Linked DNA regions of Homo sapiens: region 2 is linked to region 1. Evidence: promoter capture Hi-C in human tissues and cell types (Jung and others, 2019). All regions are on one chromosome and are shown on one strand. The core of a region is centred on a gene start or on the middle of the fragment in contact, and the rest is flanking DNA. Distances in the headings are between cores, read along the strand shown. Region 1 holds the start of DBH (dopamine beta-hydroxylase). Region 2 has its middle 21 kb from the start of MYMK.

The links. Contacts are between HindIII fragments. The study calls those that stand out against the background at their distance.
Region 2: a contact is called between a fragment that was not itself captured here and the fragment with the promoter of DBH in region 1, in 2 of the 25 tissues and cell types used here (IMR-90 fibroblasts and spleen).

The regions. Positions count from the first base shown.
Region 1 is chr9:133,633,924-133,638,626 of GRCh38, forward strand. DBH (dopamine beta-hydroxylase) reads left to right here and starts at 2,440. Exons shown (of 12, transcript NM_000787.4): 1 at 2,440-2,787. The coding sequence starts at 2,449. RefSeq lists an enhancer at 3,705-4,440. The HindIII fragment of the contact is 16,885 bases long and covers 282-4,703 here.
Region 2 is chr9:133,501,710-133,506,131 of GRCh38, forward strand. No RefSeq gene overlaps it. Among named protein-coding and RNA genes, the nearest start is that of MYMK, 21 kb to the right of the region's middle. The HindIII fragment of the contact is 3,478 bases long and covers 155-3,632 here.

The sequences.
Region 1 (4,703 bases), core at 1,190-3,689:
TATCAGTATTTTGGAATCAGCTGAATCATTTCTGTCAAATGCTAGAGGAAAGCCAGTTTTGAGTTGGATAAAGAAAATGTCTTTGATTCCTGTTAAAAATAAACATGTGTGCATAACACTGCTGAGCACGAGACCGCACCTGCCGTCCCTCCTTAGAGCTCCCAGCAGCTGTTGGTCTTTGGCGTATCCGGGAGAGGAGCGAGGCCTGGAGGTGTGTTGAGCCGTCCAAGGGCTGGTAGCATCAGGGGCTCTTCACTGCCTCTCGCTCCACAGAACCGCTGGGTTGAAGGAAGCTGGAGGGATCAATTGTCCTTGTCATCCAACTTCCTGTGTCTGTAGATGGGGAGGAGGCGCTGGGTTGGAAAGCGCTTCTCTGAGGACGCCAGCTGCGCATTCAGGAGGGCGGAGCAGGATATGACCCCAGAGCTCTGACCCCGGAGGAGCAGGAGGGGTGCCTGGGGCCTCAATACCCCAGAGGGGAGAGAGGTGCCCCCCTTCCCACAACGCGGGCCCCAGCTGGTGCTCGTTTAGCCTGTTGTCTAGCTGGAGCCACCTGGGTGGCCACCAGGCTGCTGGGAGGGCTCACCCCTGAGCTGGGTGTGCTGTGGAGCCCGTGACCCTCACCTCTGCCTCTGCTGGCTTTTGTTATCCCGTGCTGGGAACACCAGTGCCTGCCCACCCCGGAGGCTCTTCGTATCACCGGCTCGCTGTGGCCGCTCCCCAGTCCCGAGAGTGAATGTCCGGGATGCAGCAGACACCTGCTTACAAGGCACAGGTGAGGAGGTTTTGGAACTAATCTGAGGCATGAAGGTGAGGTGCTCTCAGGCGACGGAGGTGGCATGTCCTGATGGGAAAGCCAGGCCTTCGGAGGCTGAGACCCTTCCCAAGGCTCACCAGAGAACTCCCAAGAGTGTCTTTCCCCTGGCCTGGGAGACAATTTCACACCAATGCCACACTCTATTGCACAGGTGATTATGCACTTGGACCTCACCTGCCTGGGCTGTGGGTGGGGGCGAACGGTGCCCCTCTGGGTGCAATCAGTGGGGAGGGGCTCATGGCCTGAGCTTGGCTTTGCAGGATGGCCTGGCCACTGTGGGGCAGAGAGCACTGCCTGCGAGGGCCAGGGGAAGGCTGGCACTTTCTCCAAATTTCACGTTCGTGCAAAGACACAGTCATTCCTTTCTACAGCGTAGAGCTCAGAGCTGAAGCAGCCTCCAGACCTGCTGTCATGGGTATTTAAGGACCTAAATGTTGCTGTCAGCCTATGACATGAATGTGCCCCTAAGGCTAGATTCTGGGTTTCTCCAGAGAGACGAGAAACAGGAGGGAAAAGGAAGGAAGGGAGGGAGGAGGCTGGGGAGGAGGGACAGCTTCTAGTCCAGCTGGAGAGATCTGTCAACCCAGCCTGGGGGGTGGAGCTGGAGGGATCAAGCAGAATGTCCTGAAGGCAGCTGCCCTCAGTCTACTTGTGGGAGAGGACAGGAGGGAGAGGTGCCGTGGTGAGACTGACCCTCGGGCCCACGGGTGGATGATGGCAAAGGTCCTGTGGCAGGTGTGGGAGAAGCAGGGCTGCGGCCAGCTGCCCTGAGAGGCTTCAAATTCAGGCCAGATCTGCTCTGGGCAAGAGGAAGCTGTGGGTTTGGGAGCTTCAGAGACAGGGGAGCAGGCCTGTCACTCACCCTCTTTTCCTTAAAGGCTGTCACCCCCAGCAGTGCACCCTGCAGCCTGCCTATCCCCTGTGCAGCTCCAGCTCCGTCTGTCCCCAGCAATGCACCCCACGCCCATGTCCCCCACTCCCTATGATGCTCTCGCGCCTTCTGGAGCAGCAGTGGTACCAGCTGGAGGCTGTGGAAAAATTGAGAGGAGACAAAAGTGGGAAGAGCAGGCCGTGGAGAGAGTGTCTAAACACAGGGACTATTTGGAGATTGTCTTATTTTTGGTTTGAAATGGGCCCACCTGCTAGTATTGTACAAACGGCTCTGCTCGCTAGGCCAGGCCTGCAGTGGCTACGGGCCTATCCTTCACTGGTCAGCCTGGAGCAGCTCCTCGGACCTCAGTCTGCTCATCCGTGGGTAGAGGCGACGCAGACCCCATCCCACTGGGGACTGGGCCAGACAGCCTGTGAGGCAGTCAGCTGGTGCCTGGCCAGAGGGTGTCTGAAAGGCCTCTTGGCTGCAGGGTGCATCTGCTTTTGGGACAGCTCTTCAGAGCCATCTCAGAAGGGACAGCATCCGCCTGTCTACTTCAACTCCCACTGATGACGTCCATGTGTCATTAGTGCCAATTAGAGGAGGGCAGCAGGCTGAGTGCTTGGCCTGGGGCGCAAGCTTGTGGGAGGGAAAATTGGATTCCCCGCTAGACAAATGTGATTACCCGTGCTGCCTGGACCCACCCCATTCAGGACCAGGGCATAAATGGCCAGGTGGGACCAGAGAGCTCACCCCAGCCATGCCCGCCCTCAGTCGCTGGGCCAGCCTGCCCGGCCCCAGCATGCGGGAGGCAGCCTTCATGTACAGCACAGCAGTGGCCATCTTCCTGGTCATCCTGGTGGCCGCACTGCAGGGCTCGGCTCCCCGTGAGAGCCCCCTCCCCTATCACATCCCCCTGGACCCGGAGGGGTCCCTGGAGCTCTCATGGAATGTCAGCTACACCCAGGAGGCCATCCATTTCCAGCTCCTGGTGCGGAGGCTCAAGGCTGGCGTCCTGTTTGGGATGTCCGACCGTGGCGAGCTTGAGAACGCAGATCTCGTGGTGCTCTGGACCGATGGGGACACTGCCTATTTTGCGGTGAGTCTCTCCTCCCTGCCAGCTCTCCAAACCCTTCCTGACCCGGCACCCCATCTGGCCGTCTTTCTGCACTCACCCTCCTTAACCCAGAAAGTTCTTCTGTCACCTGTCAGTGTTTGAGTTGACTCTGCTCTGAGCCAAGTCTGCACCCCGAGCTTGGGCATCATGGGGATCTCAGTTTGAGGACAAAATAGGAAAGACATGCTTTCCATGGTCCTTGACTGCCCGCCCCAAATCATGGGACCCAGTAATCCCAAGGAATGGAACTATACACAGAGGACGCACACACCACACACACTCGTGCCGCTCCACACCCCACACGCGCATGAGCACAGACCCCACGACCCTCGGCCCTGTAAACAATGCCTAGTACCACGTCCCCAGAGCACACATGCCCACTGATGTGGGCCAGGTGGTGGCGCGTGGCTGGGCACAGCATGAGGCCTGCACACCCATGGGATCCAGCCTGACCTACTGTGCTTGTACCCGTGGACCAACTGAGCAGGTGCAGACACCCTGCCCCTACCCATAGGTGTTGAACAAGCCCCACAGGGCTCAGCCAAAACTGTTAGGATGGGCTCTTGACTCCTTTCCGTCCAAATTTACCTCCACTCTTGTTTCACAGGGTGGAGAAAGGGGAAAAGTTTCCCTTCAAACTGGAGGGGACTTTAGGCCCTTCCACAAGCTGCAGGGGGTCCCCGAAGTGGGCGAGCCCACCGCCTACAATGGGTCCTGCTCCAGCCTTCCTTTCCACATGGGACTGGCCACCAGGGCTTCTTTGTGGATGAAACCCAACTCTCTCCACAGAAACACACAAAGGAGTGACAAAAAAGTTTTATTTCTGAAGTCAGGAGGTGCCTGCTTTATCTGGGAGTGCCGAGCTGGAGCGGGGGAGCTGTGTCTGTGCGGAGCGGCCGGCTCCAGCTCTGCATCTTGGTCTCACCATGGGCTGGTGGGGCGGAGAGTCCCTCTCTGCCTTTTTGGGTGTTGTGAATTCATGAGGGCAGATGGTGGCTGCTGTTTCTGGAGCTGAGCTTGCCCCCTCCAATTCCCAAGACTCGGCCAGGAGGCACTTGCCTGTGTCGCTAGTGAGGCTTAGGGCCACCCAGGTAGGGTGAGTGGAGCTGCCTGGGAAGGGCCCTGCTCTGACCCATAGGGCTGCACAGATTCCTGTGCACAAAGACACTCTGTGGCTCAGGTTCCAGCCAAGAAAGACCTGGGACAGCCCTGATTCTGAGCCGTCAGCCGTCTGGAGGAGCAGCTGAACCCCATCGCTGACAGTTTGGGGTTCTTCGCAAGCCTCTGCCATGAGGCACCCTGAGTGCAGGAGCATTTGCTCCTCTCTGGGGCAGCGTCCCCCCTGCCTGCATTTCCCGGCTGCTAGGGAAGCCAGAGGAAGCCAGGTGACTTTGCCTTTCCGTGCACTGGCAAGGTTAATTTGCACAACAAATTCCTACGAAAGCAAATGTCAGCCTTATTATTCCTCCCTAAGCAATATGTTCAACTAATATCTTCTTGATTTCCAGCTGAAATATCACAGGCGAACTTTCTGCCTCTGTTTAAAATGAGTCTCTCGGCAAACCAGCGGTGTCCCCAGCGGGGTTGCATTGTGTGGCTTTTTTCTCTAGGGAAAGTTTTGCAGTATCTTTTGCAGATTTCTTTTTTCTCAAGGAAATGAAGAAAAGATGTTTTACCCTGAATGTAAGATTAAAAAGAAACACAACCCAAAGTCCTTAAGGCCAAGGGCCCGAGGCTTTCTTGGGGTTTCCATGGGAAAGGCCAGGCAGGGCAGGGAAGCAGCTTCGTTTGGACAATTCTGGTGGGCTCTGGGTGGCTGGGGTGGTCTCTAGTTGCCTGGTTCCTGGCCCTAGGGTGTTTTAGGGTTGGGGCAATATTGGCCTGGGGTGTGAGAGTCA
Region 2 (4,422 bases), core at 644-3,143, 130 kb before region 1:
CAAACCTGAGCATCATTTTTTGACTACTTTTGTGGCTAGAGGTCAGAAGACAAAGCACAGAGCCTGGCCATGCAGGAGAGTCTAGTGGAAGACCATTCCTTCAATGTGGGACTCCATGGGCTACACCTCACTGTCATGGGAAACTAGAAAATCTATTTCCCCTTTGGATACTACATCGGCACTGCCTGTAGCAAACTTTGGTGCCAAGTGGAGCAGGAAAAGCATTCTCTAAGAATTAATAACTATAACCTGAACTACGTGTGTGTGTATGTAGCCTGAATCCACATTTCCTCAACTATCCAAAACAAGGGATTTTAGTTTAAAGGAGTGTCAGATTGGAAGTGCCTCAATTGTTTGACAGAAGTAAATACAATTACTTTCTAAAGGACTCTGCCTTTACCTCAGGCCTCAGAAAATTTCCATAAAGTTCCACAGCAAATGAGCAGTTCAGAGTAAAAAAAAAATCACTAAATATACAAGGAAACAAGACACCATGAGGGAAAGTCAACAGAAACAACAGGCAGTAGAATCAGATCAGCCAAACATTTAGATACTAAAAATAGCAGGACTGGAAAATAAATGTGTTTTATGGAAGAAATAAGAGGCTTGGATGTATTAATGAAGAACAAGCATACTTGAAAAAGAACCAAACATACTCTTAGAAATAAAAACATGACAATCAAAATGAAAAACTCAAAAGATAGCTTAACCACAGTTTAGACATGACCGAAGAAGGAATTGATGAACTGAAGGATAAGGCAAAAGACATTAGGAGAGTTGCACTCCTGAAAGATAAAGAACTGGGAAATATAAAGAACATGAGGACTTGCGTGCAAATGTAAGCATATTGCTAATTGGATTTCCAGAAAATGAAGAGAGATAGAATAGGAGTAGGGGCAATATTTGAAGAGGATTATGGCTGAAACTATTTCAGATATAATGAAAGATAGCAACCCACAAATTTAAGAAGCCCAGTGACTCTCAAGCAAGCCAAAGAAAAAGGATTCCACACGAGTCACATAAGAATAAAAATACAGAACATTGAAGACCAAGAGAAGTCTTATAAAAGAGCCCAAGAGAAAATATAGATTATCTTCAAAGATAGTTACGCTGAGAACTTACTATTCAGGAGCAACAATGGGAATTAGGAAACAGAGAAATGATGTCTTCAAAATGCTCAGAGCAAATGATTACCAACCTAGAATTCAATATCCGGTGAAAAAAATTAAAGATGCAAATGATTGTCAACCTAGAATTCAATATCCAGTGGAAAAAATAAAGACACAAAGGATTACCCACCTATACAATTCAATATTCAGTGAAAAAAATAAAGACAATCATAGGCAAATAAAAATCAAGAAGGTGTCCCACAAACAACCCTTGCTTAAGGAAATTTTTTGTAAAATTAATTTTATTTTTTAAGACAGGGTCTCACTCTGTTGCCCAGATGGGAGTGCAGTGGTGCAATCATGGCTCACTGCAGCCTTGAACTCTCAGACTTGGGTGATCCTCCCACGTCAGCCTCCTGAGTAGCTGGGACTGCAGGTGTGCACCACCATGCCCAGCTAATTCTTGTTTTTTTTTTTGTAGAGATGGGGGTCTCCATATGTTGCCAGGGCTGGTCTGGAACCCCTAGGCTCAAGCAATCCATCCACCTCAGCCTCCCAAAGTGCTGGAATTACAGGTGTGAGCCCACCATGCCCGGCCACTTGAGGAAGTTTTAAAAGATATGTTTGAGCCAGAAGGAAAATAACCCCAGATGAAAAAATTGGGGTATAAGAAGAGATGAAAGTCGAAGAGATTGTCATATGTGGGCAAATCTAAACAATTATTGGTGGTAAAAATGTCATGTGTTGTTTAAATGAAGATAAAAGAAAAATACAAGGTAATAATCGTCTTAAAGTTAGGAGGGAAATAATTGGAATTAAAAGGTTCTATGGTCCTGCGATGTTCAAGGGGAGGGTAAAGATATGAATTTACTAGAAACTTTGATGAACTACCACTAAAGGAATGGAATTAGCATATACATTCTAACTCTTTAAAGGGTTATGTATGTTTCCTCCCAGTCTGCTTCTTCGTGATGTCTTTTGAAGGGTAAATATTTACAATTTTGATGGTCTAGTTGATCAGTTTTTTTCTTTGATGGATCACACCTTTGGTGTCATATTTAAGAAATCTTTGCCTAATCCAAGGTCACAAAGATTTTCTCTGATGTTTTCTGCTAGAGGTTTTCTAGTTTTTGGAGTTAATTTTGGGGTGGGATGTGAAAAAAAGGTTGAGGTTCACTTTGATGCCTCGGGACATTGATTTGTTCCAGCATTATTTGTGTTAAAGACTGTCCTTTGCAGAGTGGGGGAATTCTCTTTTCTTTTCTTTTTTCTTTTTTCTTGACAGGGTCTTGCTCTGTCACCCAGGCTGGAGTGCAGTGGCGAGATCTCGGCTCACTGCAACCTCGACCTCCTGGGCTCAAGCAATCCTCCTGCTTCAGTCTCCTGAGTAGCTGGAACTACAGGTGTGCGCCACCACGCCCAGCTAATTTTTAAAATTTCTTTTGTAGAGGTGGAGTCTCGCTATGTTGCCCAGATTGGTCTTGAACTCCTGAGCTTAAGCAATCCTCCTACCACGGCTTCCCAAAGTGCTGAGATTACAGGTGTTAGCCATTGCACCCAGCCTGAGTGGGAGATTTTTACACCCCTCTCTCAGGAGTTGATAGCAAGTAGGCAAATACTTGGTAATGACAGATTTAAGCAGCATCGTCAAGAAGCTTGACTTGACGGACTCACACAGAAGGCCAAGGGCAGGACTACACGGGGCCGTCATGGAAGCTGACCACATGCTGGGCCATAGAGAGAGACAGCCGCTGTGAAGGCTTGCCGTCTCAGAGACTGTGTTTTCTGACCGACCTCAGTACCAGTTAGAACAATAATGATGATGGCGATAAAATAGTTTGAAATCGCCCTTATCTGCAAAGTAAGGAAGAAGACATCATCATGAACATTAGGAGGGCAGTCCGGTACCTGTCTCACAGGGCAGTTGAGAGACCTAACAGCCGCTATCCAGAAAGCACTTCTTAATTTTTTAATTAATTAATTAATTTTTGAGATGGAGTTTTGCTCTTGTTGCCCAGGTTGGAGTGCAATGGTGTGATCTCAGCTCACTGCAACCTCCACCTTCTGGGTACAAGCGATTCTCCTGCCTCAGCCTCCCTAGTAGCTGGGACTGCAGGATGCGCCACCACGCTCCGCTAATTTTTGTATTTTTAGTAGAGACGGGGTGTCACCATGTTGGCGAGGCTGGTCTCGAACTCCTGACCTCAGGTGATCTACCTGCCTCAGCCTCCCAATGTGCTGAGATTACAGGCGTGAGCCACTGCGCCTGGCCCATATTTTAAAATAATAATAATTATTATTATTTTTGTAGAGACAGGGTCTCCTTATATTACCCAGGCTGGTCTCGAACTCCTGGGCTCAAGCACATAAAGCACTTCTAACAGTGTCTGGCAGGCACTGCGAGAGCCAATGATGGGAGACTCAACCTCCTCCCCCTCCTTCGTGGCTTGTTTTCTGATTCATGTACTTGTTACTTGCTGGGTGCTGTCTGTGGGATCAGTCAGGCACTTGGCTGCCTAGAATTCTGTCCCACTGCACTGTGATGAGCCCAACAGCCAAGATCCCTGCGAGCTCACAGCTCAGGAGGCGGTGCCTAGGGGCTTCGCTGGTCCACAGTGAAGACCTCTGTTGGGCCATCCAGTGGCAGAACAGGGCAGGACAAAGGAGGCCGTGAGTGCAGTGTACAGCACACAGGACTCAGAGACCCCAAACTTGGGGCCGTGTCCTGGCTCTGTCAGTGTGAGGTCTCACCCATGCAGACACTCCGTGGATCCTTGGTTTTCCAGCTGGTGAGATGGGGAAGCCAAGATGACTAAGATGCATGGTGATGAGGAAGTGGTCCCAGGTGCGAGAGCCTGGTCCAGGCCTAAAGACCGTCACGGGAGTGATCTCGACAACTGGTAGGGCGAAGGCACCATGGGACCCAGCATAGAAGAGCAGGTGTCTGCAGGAGGGACAAGTGGAGCTCTGGGGCCTCTTAGGCTGCCTTCTGTGCTGACATCTTTGGTTCTGCCATTGTGGTTTCTGGAATGGGCTGGCAGGCCAGGGGCCAGAGAACGCCCCAGTTTCCTCTGCCCCTCCTCTCCTACCTCTGGAAGGCTCAGGCAGCCAGGGCCGGTGGTCTGAGGCTGCAGCTTCCCGGAGCTCCAAGCCAGCAGCAGACGCTTATCAGCCTGCTGTGGTGCGGGGGCCGAACTCTGCCCAAACGTCTTCCAGATGTGGCCGCAGCTACTCGATAGCCTGGCTCCAGCCGGGGCTCTAGGCCAGCAGGCTCCCGTTAGCCTAGCTGTTAGGAAAACAAAACCCAATGAAG